Regions from separate parts of the Homo sapiens genome. Here region 1 is linked to region 2. The links are contacts of gene promoters, found by promoter capture Hi-C in blood cells and fetal thymus (Javierre and others, 2016). All regions are on one chromosome and are shown on one strand. The core of a region is centred on a gene start or on the middle of the fragment in contact, and the rest is flanking DNA. Distances in the headings are between cores, read along the strand shown. Region 1 has its middle 51 kb from the start of METTL4. Region 2 holds the start of ADCYAP1 (adenylate cyclase activating polypeptide 1).

Region 1 (5,928 bases), core at 1,813-4,312, 1.6 Mb after region 2:
TCCCTCAGCAGTGAGTTTCTTGGGTGAGTGATAGAGGGACAGTGCTTGACCTTGACAATTAAGCATCTGTATGTGTGACCAGACGGTCTTATGCAGGCAGGACAGAGGTGGAAGTAGGAGTAGGGAGAGGAGAGTGTCCCCATCCCTTTAGCTGTTTCACTCAGCCAAGAAGTTATGATTCCAACTGTGTACCTAATTGTAATTTTGTCCTACCTTACGTGGGCTACTGAAGGAAACATATATAAAGCAAATAATCATGATTATGAAATGTAAGAGCTTTTAGCAGGACATGAGTAGAACTTCCACATTTTCTCATGTTCCCATCTGTGGGAAGCGGCACAAAGGACCACATCTGCATCACATAAGCACTGCAGGTCACAATCATCTCTAGGCATCTGATCTGCTTTCCATGAGAAGGAAAAATTGTTTCCTGAGTGTCCGGTCCCACGGAGCAGATTTTCTCAAGGTCTTCTCCCCCATCTATATATAATCATTTTGCCTCTGCATCTGGCACCTCGCATCTTGGACTCAGCTTCACTCCCAGCAGCAGTAAACTTACATATGACTAATTATGAGAATTAATACATCGAACTCTCATGAGCTTGGTTTTGAACCTGTGGAATCCTTAGCCAGGATGAGCATCCCTGTTAATCTGGAGAATGCCTGCATGTAGGAAGTCCAAAGCACACAGCAGAAGGCCTGGCAAAAAAGACAATGAAGGGGATGGCTTGAGAAGGGGTTGTAGGCCTAAAGCCTTGCTGAAATAGCCTCGCCAGAAAGGACAGAGGCCTACAGAGACTGACAGTTCAGGGGTGTGGAAGATGACAGGGCTAAGAGACAAAGTGAGATTAAATAGTCACAGCTCCGGCTGGAACGCATTCCAGGTGACTGTGCTGACACAGAGGAAAGTGTCGAGAGTTTCCCGAAACAGGTTGGCCTTTGTTAGTGCAGTCCAGGAAGAACTCTCCAAACTGCAGAGGACTGTCTGGGCTCTGAAGAGAACACTGGCTTAAAGTTTTATGCTTCAGCAAAATACAGCTGTTAGTGGACTGGGTTGCCAGGGAAGGGTGAGGCCTCTATCAGAATGGAAGTAACCAACTTCCAGTGACCTTTTAAGGAGGCAGAGCAGATAGCATGGCCATGCTATCTGTCCTCACACTCAAACTCACACGACTCCCGTTGCCCTTTTATCTTTTACATTTAAGTTTTCTATCATTTTGTTACTATTCTATACTCTGTAATCCAGCAATTATAAATTGTAAACCCAGGAGGCCAAAGACCATGTCTGTCTTGCTCCAGACTACATCCCCTTGGACTACGTGCTAAGTAGATATATTTAAAATATTTGCTGAACTACTGAATAAACTAGATTGTTGACCCAAGTGCCAAATACTTTATCATCATATCTTCCCCTCTATCAAGATGTACTGAAAAGCTCAAGAGAAAACTTCTAAAATATTCTTATGTCATATTTTGGTCCTTTTTCTTGGGTATGTGCAAAACAATTATGTCATAGATTAAAAATTTAAAGTGGGCCAGGCGCGGTGGCTCACACCTGTAATCCCAGCACTTTGGGAGGCTGAGGCAGGCGGATCACGAGGTCAGGAATTCAAGACCAGCCTGACCAATATGGTGAAACCCCATCTCTATTAAAAATACAAAAATTAGCCGGGCGTGGTGGCACGCACCTCTAGTCCCAGCTACTCAGGAGGCTGAGTCAGGAGAATCGCTTGAACCCAGGAGGCGGAGGTTGCAGTGAGTCGAGATCGCGCCACTGCACTCCAGCCTGGGTGACAAAGCAAGACTCCGTCTCAAAAAAAAAAAAAATTAAAGTGAACTCTAACAATTGAAATTACAAGTAGAATACTGAGAATATTGTAAAAACAAAGTCTATCGATACGCAAAATCCCCTGGGTCTCAGTGAGGTGGAGACAAGCTTCAGATATGCATTGTAGCCCTGTGGGCACTACGTTTTCTATCATGTGAATGCACTCTTCACTATATTTGGGCAGGCATGGGATGGTATATGACTATCAGAACAATAGCAGTTGTATAATTTTTAACAAAATTGTCTTGATAGAGTTTGAGATCAGCCTGGGTAACATGGTGAGACCCAGTCTCTACAAAAATACAAAAATTAGCCATGTGTGGTGTGTGGTGGCATGCACCTGTAGCCCCAGCTACTTAGGAGACTGAGAGGTGGGAGGGTTGCTTAAGCCTGGGAGGTTGAGGCTGCAGTGAGCCATAATCACCCCCAATGCACTCCCACTTGAGCAACAGAGCAAGACCCTGTCTCAAAAAAAAAAAAAAGATTGTCTTGATATTTATAGGAGAAAGTTTTCTAAAACATTTATTTCCACAGGTATTCCATCATTAAACTATGGAACACTGAAAAAAAAAATGACATGAAAAGCTTGAATGATATAAGAAATTCAGTAAAATCCTAATTGAAATATATTTTGCATAATAGCAATTCTTACCAATATATGTCTTTTATAAAATGCTTATGAATACTTTAGAGAATCAGGGCACAGATTTGTAGTCCTTAAACACTCCAGAAAATAATTATTTCTATGTGCAAAAGAATTGACAATGTTCTCTTAGTATTATGAGTTGTACCGCTTTAGCAACTCTAAATTATTTGAAAACCATACATTTACAACTGAGCTAATATTATAGAATAGTTTGTGGGGTTATTAAAATCATATTTTTTGAGATGGAGTCGCACTCTGTCGCCAGGCTGGAGTGCAGTGGCACGATCTTGGCTCACTCCAACCTCTTCCTCCTGGGTTCAAGCGATTCTCCTGCCTCAGCCTCCCGAGTAGCTGGGACTACAGGCATGCGCCACCACATCTGGCTAATTTTTGTATTTTTAGTAGAGACGGGGTTTCACCATGTTGGCCAAGATGGTCTCGATCTCCTGACCTCATGATCCACCCGCCTTGGCCTCCAAAAGTGCTGGGATTACAGGCGTGAGCCACCGCGCCCGGCCAACTGTCTTCCAATCTTTCTATTCCACTGACATGGCTGTTTCTTAGGAAAGCTATAAATATTATTGCAATATTACATCTTCTTAAATATTTCTACAGGTCTGAAACCTCTATTAATCCCCACCTTCTAGAAAACTCTTACTTCCATTTGGGAAAAAGGAGAAGAGGGTTTGAGACCTGACTATCACTGTGGGTAAAACAGTAGACAAGTCACTTAACCTCTCCGGGCCTCATTTGTAAAAGAGGGATGTATAATAATGTAAATAATGTCTGCCCCACAGAGTTGTGAGGACAAATAAGACACTGCATGTAGCAGTCCTTTGTAAACTGCACTTTACAGACACACTAATGCATTATATCTGGGAACTAAAATTTCCACTCACTCCACCAAAAACCTCCCTTCCCTACATTAACCTTCAACTTTAATACAAACATTTCCAATCCAGTATTAACCACATCTTTCTCAAGTTCCTACCATGCATGAAGCATGGTGCTGGGAGCTAAAGATCCAAAAGGGAAGAGTCAGGGAGGAGGCTGAAAACTGCATGAGCTCAGCTGTCCCATTGTGTGTAACAGAATAGAACAACCTTGAGACATGTTGTGTACAAGCATAATCAAAATACTTGACTTTTTTTAACTTGAGAGTTTTTTTCTCTTTATGTTCTTTTACTTAATAACTTTCAGAAATTTCAAGAGAGCAAAAATATATTTTCTGAAATTAAAAGCTTTTAGAGTATCAAGCTTACAATAGAACATTGTGTCCTCAGAGACAATAAACCATCTGTCCTATCAATATGTTTAAAATCCTAGTGATATAATGCCAAATATAGTATATTTCCGAGTCTTAACAAATGGAAAGGTTGACAGAATCTCAAGGCCCTTATTCCTCCACGGACTGCCCAACTCCATCATAGATCCAAGAGTGGGTTTCAGAACCTCGTCTATTATAAGCTTGGACAGATCAAGTGTAAATGCAGAGACCACTTTGTCTAGAGTTAGGCTTGGGCTGGACTGTCCATGTGTCCTCTGGGCCCTGCCATATTGCCTGCTGGGCTTTCCAAGGCACCCTCCCAAGTGAAAGAAGAGGTAGCCCTGGGCCCTTCTTTCCAGCCATTGGAGAGAAGAGACAAGAGGGGAATAGAAAGAAAGGGAAGGAAAAGAAAGGAGAAAGGAAGAGATCCAAAAGTAAATGGCCACCCCCAAAAAGTAACATGTGAAGAAAAGCACTTTCAGCCTCTTCATACTTCCCTCTGAAACTTTCCCCTTTATGCCAAGCTCCACCCCATGGTCTAGATATATGGACCTGAGGACTTCATTCTAGATCAACCTTCTTTTCTCTAGGAGGGAGGGAGGGGCAAGTATGAGTTCAGCTGGGCTTTTCCTCCCGTGCCTTCCACCATGAGAAAGTCATGTCCTATTCAAGGCTGTTCCTCTGGCCTGAGACACTGAATGAGAAGATGTGCATAGTGTCTGAATCTGACCTGTGATCTGAAGCAGAACCATGCCAGCCAACCCGCAACTACAAACATACAGAGTGAGAAATAAATCATGTTAATGTAAACCACTGAGATTTTGAAGTGGTTTACTGTTACGCAGTGTAACCCAGCAAACACTACCTAATTAATCTCCCCAAATAAGTCATGCAACTGTGTTTGCCCCATTACTCCTCAGCTGACACAATCGAGTCAATAACTTAATTGTAGCCTCTTCTGGCTTTCCATCTCCCAAAATCTTTTTAATGTCCCATAAAACCCTTGTGATTTGGACACCATTACCCAACCCTCCCTTACTCAGCTTTAGCTCTCTGGCTTCCTTGCTCTGTCTCAAACCTACCAGATTTACTCCCCACCCAGAACCTTTGCATCTGTTGTTCCCAATGCCTGGCACGCTCTCTTTCTAGATATCTAGTGTCTTGCTGTCTCACCTCCTTCCAGTCTTGCTCAGGAGACCTTGCTAACCACACTACTTAAAAGTGACCCCACCCCAGCTCTCTGCACATCCTTTCACTGCTTATTTTTCTCTAAGAAACTTACTACTTTCCATAATATATGTATTGATTATTAATATTATATACTGACTTGCTCTCCTTATTAAAAAGTATGCACCATTTCTGTCTGTTTTGTTCCTGACTAACCCAGTATCGTGGAGGACTCATAGAAAGTGTTCAACATCTTTAAAGTGCTGGGGGAAAAAAATCAAGAATTCTATAGCCAGTAAAACTACTTTTCAAAAATAAAGATAATTAAGTGTTTAAAATAAAAATGATAGTATGTCACAGAGCTTATAATATATGTAGAAATAAAATCTAAAAGAATAGCAAAAAGGATGGAAGAGGGCAATGGAAGCATACTGTTGTAGAGCTCTTATATATAGTCTAATGTTATTTGAAGGTAGTCTATGACAAGCTAGAGTTAGGAGTTGTAAACCCTAGATAAACCATTTAAAAAGAAAAACAGTAGAGATAACTTTTGAAGTCAATACTGAAGATAAAATGGAATCATAAAAAAACAATAAATCCAAAAGAAGTTGGGTAAAAAGGGAAGAAGGAAGAACAGATAGCTCAAATAGAAAAAAAAATGGCAGATGTAAACCCAATCATATAACTACATTCAATATAAATAATCTAAATATTCCAATTAAAAGAGATTTTCAGGCTTGGCACAGTGGCTCACACCTGTAATCCCAGCACTTTGGGAGGCCAAGGTGGGCAGATCACCTGAGCTCAGGAATTTAAGGCCAGCGTGGGCAACATGGTGAAACACCCATCTCTACTAAAAATACAAAAATTAGCCAGGCACGGTGATGTACACCTGTAGTCCCAGCTACTCGGGAGGCTGAGGCAGGAGGATCATTGAGCCCACTAGTTCAAGACCTGCCTGGGCAACATAGTGAGCCTGGAAGGCAGAGGTTGCAGTGAACTGAGATTGTGCCACTGCAT
Region 2 (5,789 bases), core at 371-2,870:
TCCTCTTCCCACATCATTTTCAGTTAAAAAAATTAACTGTTTCCAGCAGAGGGATTCCTGTTAGAAACCTTCATCAGGTGAACTTGTACTGGGAACCCTCATGCTTTCCCAGTCTGTCTGTGTCTCCCAAACAGAGCTGAAGTTGTAAACAAAGTGGAAAAACATATTTCTCGCCCCCAAATTCTTAAAATTTCACTTCTTGTGGAAAACACAATTTCACAACATCAATTTTTAAAATCTGTAAGAGCCACAGAAGGTGTGAAAGTAGCCAAACAGCCGGTCTAGAAATCCAAAAGCCAGGACTAACGGGGGACAGAATGCTTTTTCCTCAAATCCAGGCAGGGATGGGGAGCATTCTCAGCATTAGGGCATTTATGGACGCTACAAGAGGGAAAGGATGTATCTGAACGGTGGGGGTGATTTAGGCGATGAATCGCCACGTTAATAGCACTACTGCCAAATCTTCAAATTTAGAGGCTCTGGTGAAAAATTAAACCGGTGGCAATTTTCAACGTTTGTAGCATCTGTTACCCTACACTTCAGCACCCGGAGTCTGGACAGCTCCGCAGGCCGCGCTCCGGAGGCAGCATGAGCTCTCATCAATCTACTCATAGCCCTACTGTCAACGGCAGCCAGACTCAGGAGAGATTTACTGAAAATCCTCCAAGACTTCCCTTTAAAAACAAAACGACTTCCACATTTAATGGTCTATCTGAAAGAACATACGCAAGAAATTAGGAGATCTAAATTAAATTTATTAATAGGAGAGCTTGATGATGCTTAATTCCAGAGACCAGAGCTCTGATTGGTGAGGCTTGATGAAAAAGTAAAGAGAAATCGTAATTATATAGTTAAAAACATAACTTTTGTCATCCTCAAAATTCTAAAAATTCTTTACCTGTCCTTGAGAAACGGGTGAAATTGAAAACCATCAAAACAATTGGACTTCTTAAAAATTGGATTGTATGAGTGAAAGGTGTTTATGAGAAGTCGATGACTCCGGATCTTATCATCCAAGAGGACAGCACAGAATAGTTAATATGTTCCTTGAGGGACTAGGATGCTGACGTCTTTTTCTGATACCCGATCATTACGTGACTGAGAAAAAAAAAAAGGAAGTCATTTCATGAATAAAAATCGGAGCGCAACAGTGCAACAAAATATTCTGTACTTAAAGGCAACAGGCAGGCAGATGTTGACAAAGAGGGCTCTCCAAAAACCATGTTCGGATAGATTTTTGCGAACTGCACAGATAAATAGGAGCAGAAGGCCGGTCACCTCTGTAACCAGCGGTAGCAGCAGCAGAAGCCGCAGCTTCAGAGGCAGCCGGAGAGACCTCGGAGCAGAGAAGGCGCCGCCGACCCTCGCGGCTGCCTGGCCCGCGGCTCCTACAAAGGCGGGCTAGCCGCCCGCCCTCTCCCTTGCCTTCCTCCCCTTCTTTTCTGACTTTCCCTCTTTCCCTTAATCGCCTGCTTCTTCCTCCGGGTGGACTTACGGCCACCTTGCTCCTCCGCGCTTCACCTCATCGCCCCCTCTTTCTTTCTTCTGCCTCTCTCTCTGCGCCCCCTTCTCTCCGTGTCACGCTCCCTCCTGGTTCTGCGCGTCTACAAACTTTTGAGCAGAACACGAGCCTCGGCAAACGAGTCCCGCAGCTCCTCCTGCTGCTCCCGCTGGTTCCTGCGGCTTCTGCTCAGACACCAACGCCAGACGGCGATGCCTCTCGGGTGGTGACTCCAGCGCAGGAACTTGAAGAAGCGCTTTGCCCGCCGTCCTACCTGGCAGCTCTCCTGGCAGCGGGAGGAGTTGAAGGGTAAGGGAGGGAAAATCTTACCAAAGCGACCGGCTCACTCGACTGCTGATTCTTTCGCTTGGCATCGCGTCAGGGGAGTTAGCTTTCCTTCAGCCGGGTCTGGCTAGTTATTGGGCGCCGGGTAGATGCATATATATATATTTTTTTCTAACTATAGCAAGCAAGAAGTGGCAGGGCGCGCACCGGCTGTCGCCAAGTGCTGTTCAACTCAGGGAGCCGGGGCTTCGCTCCGTCCCTCCCCCGGCTTCCAGAGCTTTTTGGGGTTGGAGGGTGGGAGGCCAGGGGCGTTCTCACAGCTGTGTGTCCTCTTTCCCATCCTGCGCAGAATGACCATGTGTAGCGGAGCGAGGCTGGCCCTGCTGGTCTATGGGATAATCATGCACAGCAGCGTCTACAGCTCACCTGCCGCCGCCGGACTCCGGTTCCCCGGGATCAGGTAGGTGCTGGCTGCCTGGCCCAAGCAGGAGCTGGGGCTTCCCAGGCACAGACGCTTCCTCACGGTCTCCTTCCTGCAGTCCTTTGGGTCCAGACTACTAGCATCGCCCTCTGCGCCCCCGGTGCGCCTCCGCCAGCCTCGGCTGGACAGCGGGTCCCCATTCTAGCCGAGGGTCTGGCAGGCTCCGCGACTGCTCGGACGCCTCCCCCAGCCCTAGGCAGCTCAGGGTCCCGGGTAGAGCCAGTGAGCTTCTGGCCGCTGGAGAACCCCCCCTCCCCCAACCCGGCCCACAGGATGGGGGCAGGGCACGGCCCCTAGCTTGGTTTCTTTTACCTATTCTTGGGACGAGTTAGGAGAACTTCAGCTCTGGAGCCTGGCCGGGGGTTGAGCGTGAAGCTCCCTCGGACTTTGCTTTGTTACTGCTTGTTCTGGACTATCCGGGTGGGGTCTCTCTCTCTCCTCCACCCTTTCTTTTCATTTCATTCCAATTCTTTCCCCTGAAGAGCTTTCTTTCAAGTGATCCGTGTTCCAACTGCATTTTGAATCCCAGGCTGTCTTGGGGGGCGTGCGGTGGGGAGGGTGTTGGCCCGGTGTGATTGAGGAAAAGCGACTTAAGAGAGGGAAGAACAAGGACGAGACTGCGAAGGAGGGGGAAAAACAGGCGCAAAGGAGGAGGAAGGGAAAGCCAGCAGGCAGGCAGGACCGGGAGAGCAGCCCTGCCTGGCCCGGGATGGAGGAACCTTGGCTTTTTTCTTAACCCCGGGTTTCTAACCGGCAGGCGCGGCCCAGGTTCCCGGAGGCAGCCCCAGAGTCGCGGACCGATGTGCCAGGCTGTGGATGAGCCCTGGGTAGGGGAGGGTTCGTACCAGCGGCGCCTGGGGCAGCGAGGAGCGCGCGTTCTGCCTGCGAAGCTGCCTTCTCCGAGCCCCGCCCAGGAACATTAGCTCTGGGGGGCCGCTGATCATTGATTTGGACGGAGAGATGGGTTCTGGGTTCTGTATTAGGATTCCAGCATCTGGGCTCGAGGCAGGGCAATATCCAGAAAGACCCCAGGGTTCGGGGTACCCGGGCCAGGGCTGAGGCGCATCGCCGAGCAAAGGCTGGGTGCGAGGCGTGCGGAATGATGCGCTTGCCTTGCCCGGGCCTCTCCAAGGATGGAGAAAAGGCGAGTGAAGCAGCGAAGTACGACTCCAACCCCGCCCAGAGAGTGCTACTAGCGCTGGCTGCACGCCAAGTCTCTCCAGGGGTCCAAAGCGAGAGGGATTTGTTTTAACCCATCTCTACCCGTCCTGTGTCAAGAACGGAGGCTGTAGAGGGCGACTGCGAAGTCGCCAGGCACTCGCTGGATCTCGGTCCCCCTCCTCGTGCTCTGGGGTTGAGATGGGGCACCGCCATCGATAACAGATCAGCGCGAACTATTCGTTTAGTGGCCTTAAAACACCCTGGTTTCACCCTCAGCTATTTTCAAGTTCCCGTGTGCCTGGCACTTTCTCCGTGCGAGAAGCACCGGAGGGTGCGGACGCGCCACAGTCTGAGCCGCCGCCGAACTGGCTAAGTTTAGGGGCATTTATTATTCATGTTCCTGCCAGATCCTCGCCTGCCCAAAATAGAAACCGAGGTTCTCCGTGACCTACATCTGCTCGGAGAAGGGCTCCCCTGGGCTCGGAGGCTGGGGTGGGGGTGGCTGAGGAGTTGGCCCCCGCACGCCCCACGCATCCTCTCCTTTGCTTTCTGGGCCTCCCCATTCGGGTCTTCGCGTGGGTCAGCGCCCGGTCTCCCAGGGCCTTTCTCGTCCCCGCCCGTTGCTGCTTTGGGGAGGCTCGGGAGCCAGGCGGGGAGGGGGGCGGTCCTTTTCCGTAGACAGGTGTGCGCGATCGGCGGAGACGCCTCGGTTTCCCAGCGCTTGTTGAGGCCGTGGCCCGCAGGACGACCCTTTACCCGCGAAGGGGGGGTGGGCGGGCCGCCCGGCGGGGTAGGAGTGGTTGGGTGTCGTTGCCTCCTCCTTACCTCTGCTCCCACCCCCAGTCCTGGGAGAAGAGACAATTCTCAGCGGAGGACTTTTATCACCTGTGAAAATCCGCGCGAGCCCCTTACTTTGGATCCTCGCCGAGCTGGGGAGGAACTTGCACTGACCACACCTTCTGTCCCCGGCCACCCCGCAGGCCAGAGGAAGAGGCGTACGGCGAGGACGGAAACCCGCTGCCAGACTTCGATGGCTCGGAGCCGCCGGGCGCAGGGAGCCCCGCCTCCGCGCCGCGCGCCGCCGCCGCCTGGTACCGCCCGGCCGGGAGAAGGTGAGATTCGCGCGGCCTCGCGCACACCCGCGGCTGGGAGCTCGGGACTGCGGTGACGGGAGGGGCAGTGTGGTGACCCACCCAGGATTTTTTTTTTTTTCCCGTGAAAGTCCTCAAGCCTGTCCTCTCCCTGGCCCGATCCTATTGCAGCGACAGAAAATCAGCAGCGGGCGGGTCTGTGTGGACCTGAGGGCCGCGTGGGGACCGAGGGGGGCTGTGGCCCAAAGAGTGGCAGTGAGTGGCGTCAAGGAACCCACACTCCGCATCTGCCACTCCTAGAGCCGGGACTAGCTCCCGATCCTAGCAGTTGCTCTCGAGATCATCCCGGGAGTTATTGGCGAGTTCTGGGCCTCTGGAGGTTTCCCTGTCAGCCTCCCCGGCCGCCGAGGGGGCGCGCGCCCAACAAGGGGGTCTCTAGCGGCCACCTGGGGACAGAAACAGTGACCCTGGGCGCGCACTTTGCCTCCCCGTTAGAGATGTCGCCCACGGGATCCTTAACGAGGCCTACCGCAAAGTGCTGGACCAGCTGTCCGCCGGGAAGCACCTGCAGTCGCTCGTGGCCCGGGGCGTGGGGTAAGAGTTTGTGGAAGGATTAACCTGCGCGCGCCGGGGTGGGTGCCTGTGCGGGGCGCGCGGGGCGGGCGGCGGTGGGTGCCCGTGGGGGCCAGGGTGAGTCTGCGCCCCTGGGTCTGGGGTGGGCATCCGCCACGGGTCGCAGTTGGAGATTTTGAAGTGGCACTTTAAATTTGCCCAGAGAGCTCTGGAAGAGGCAAAAAGGGAACGCGAGCCAGGGAGTTTGATCCGTTTTGAATGAAAAGAAAGAGAAACCAAACCAAACCTCTCAGTCATCCAAAACCTTCAGGCTTCCAGGGAGGTTTTGCTATAATTTTCTCTAAGCATGACTGTTTCTGGGGGAGGGGAAAGGGGTGGTTGTATTTACTGAAAATTCAAATCGAAATAATAAATGGCCAAATGTGGACACTTATGGACCCAAACAGTTTTGCTCACGCCAGAGAAACTGAGAGCACAGGGCTTGTGTGAAGCCTATCTCGGCAGAAGGCAACATTCTAATAAAGCCCGTGGGAAAACAGATTACATTTTCGCCATGAATAAGTCATGCAGTGAAAAATATTGCCTACAGCCTGTCGACTTATATTATTATCACGTTTTTCAACTCGGCGTGAGGAGGGAGAGGAGTGTTCATATTTGACTAGGAATTGCAGGATCGATGCAAACTCCAGGGCAGCAG

What was found. Contacts are between HindIII fragments. The CHiCAGO score rates a contact against its expected background, and 5 or more counts as called.
Region 1: a fragment that was not itself captured here is called in contact with the fragment with the promoter of ADCYAP1 in region 2 in 1 of 17 cell types (total CD8 T cells); the score reaches 5.4 in total CD8 T cells.

The regions. Positions count from the first base shown.
Region 1 is chr18:2,517,775-2,523,702 of GRCh38, forward strand. No RefSeq gene overlaps it. Among named protein-coding and RNA genes, the nearest start is that of METTL4, 51 kb to the right of the region's middle. The HindIII fragment of the contact is 1,302 bases long and covers 2,412-3,713 here.
Region 2 is chr18:903,251-909,039 of GRCh38, forward strand. ADCYAP1 (adenylate cyclase activating polypeptide 1) reads left to right here and starts at 1,621. Exons shown (of 5, transcript NM_001099733.2): 1 at 1,621-1,810; 2 at 2,136-2,246; 3 at 4,409-4,540; 4 at 5,015-5,113. The coding sequence starts at 2,137. LOC124904340 (a long non-coding RNA gene) reads right to left here and starts at 3,402. Exons shown (of 2, transcript XR_007066435.1): 1 at 1,832-3,402; 2 at 1-1,098. RefSeq lists an enhancer at 4,466-5,187. The HindIII fragment of the contact is 10,218 bases long and covers 1-5,789 here.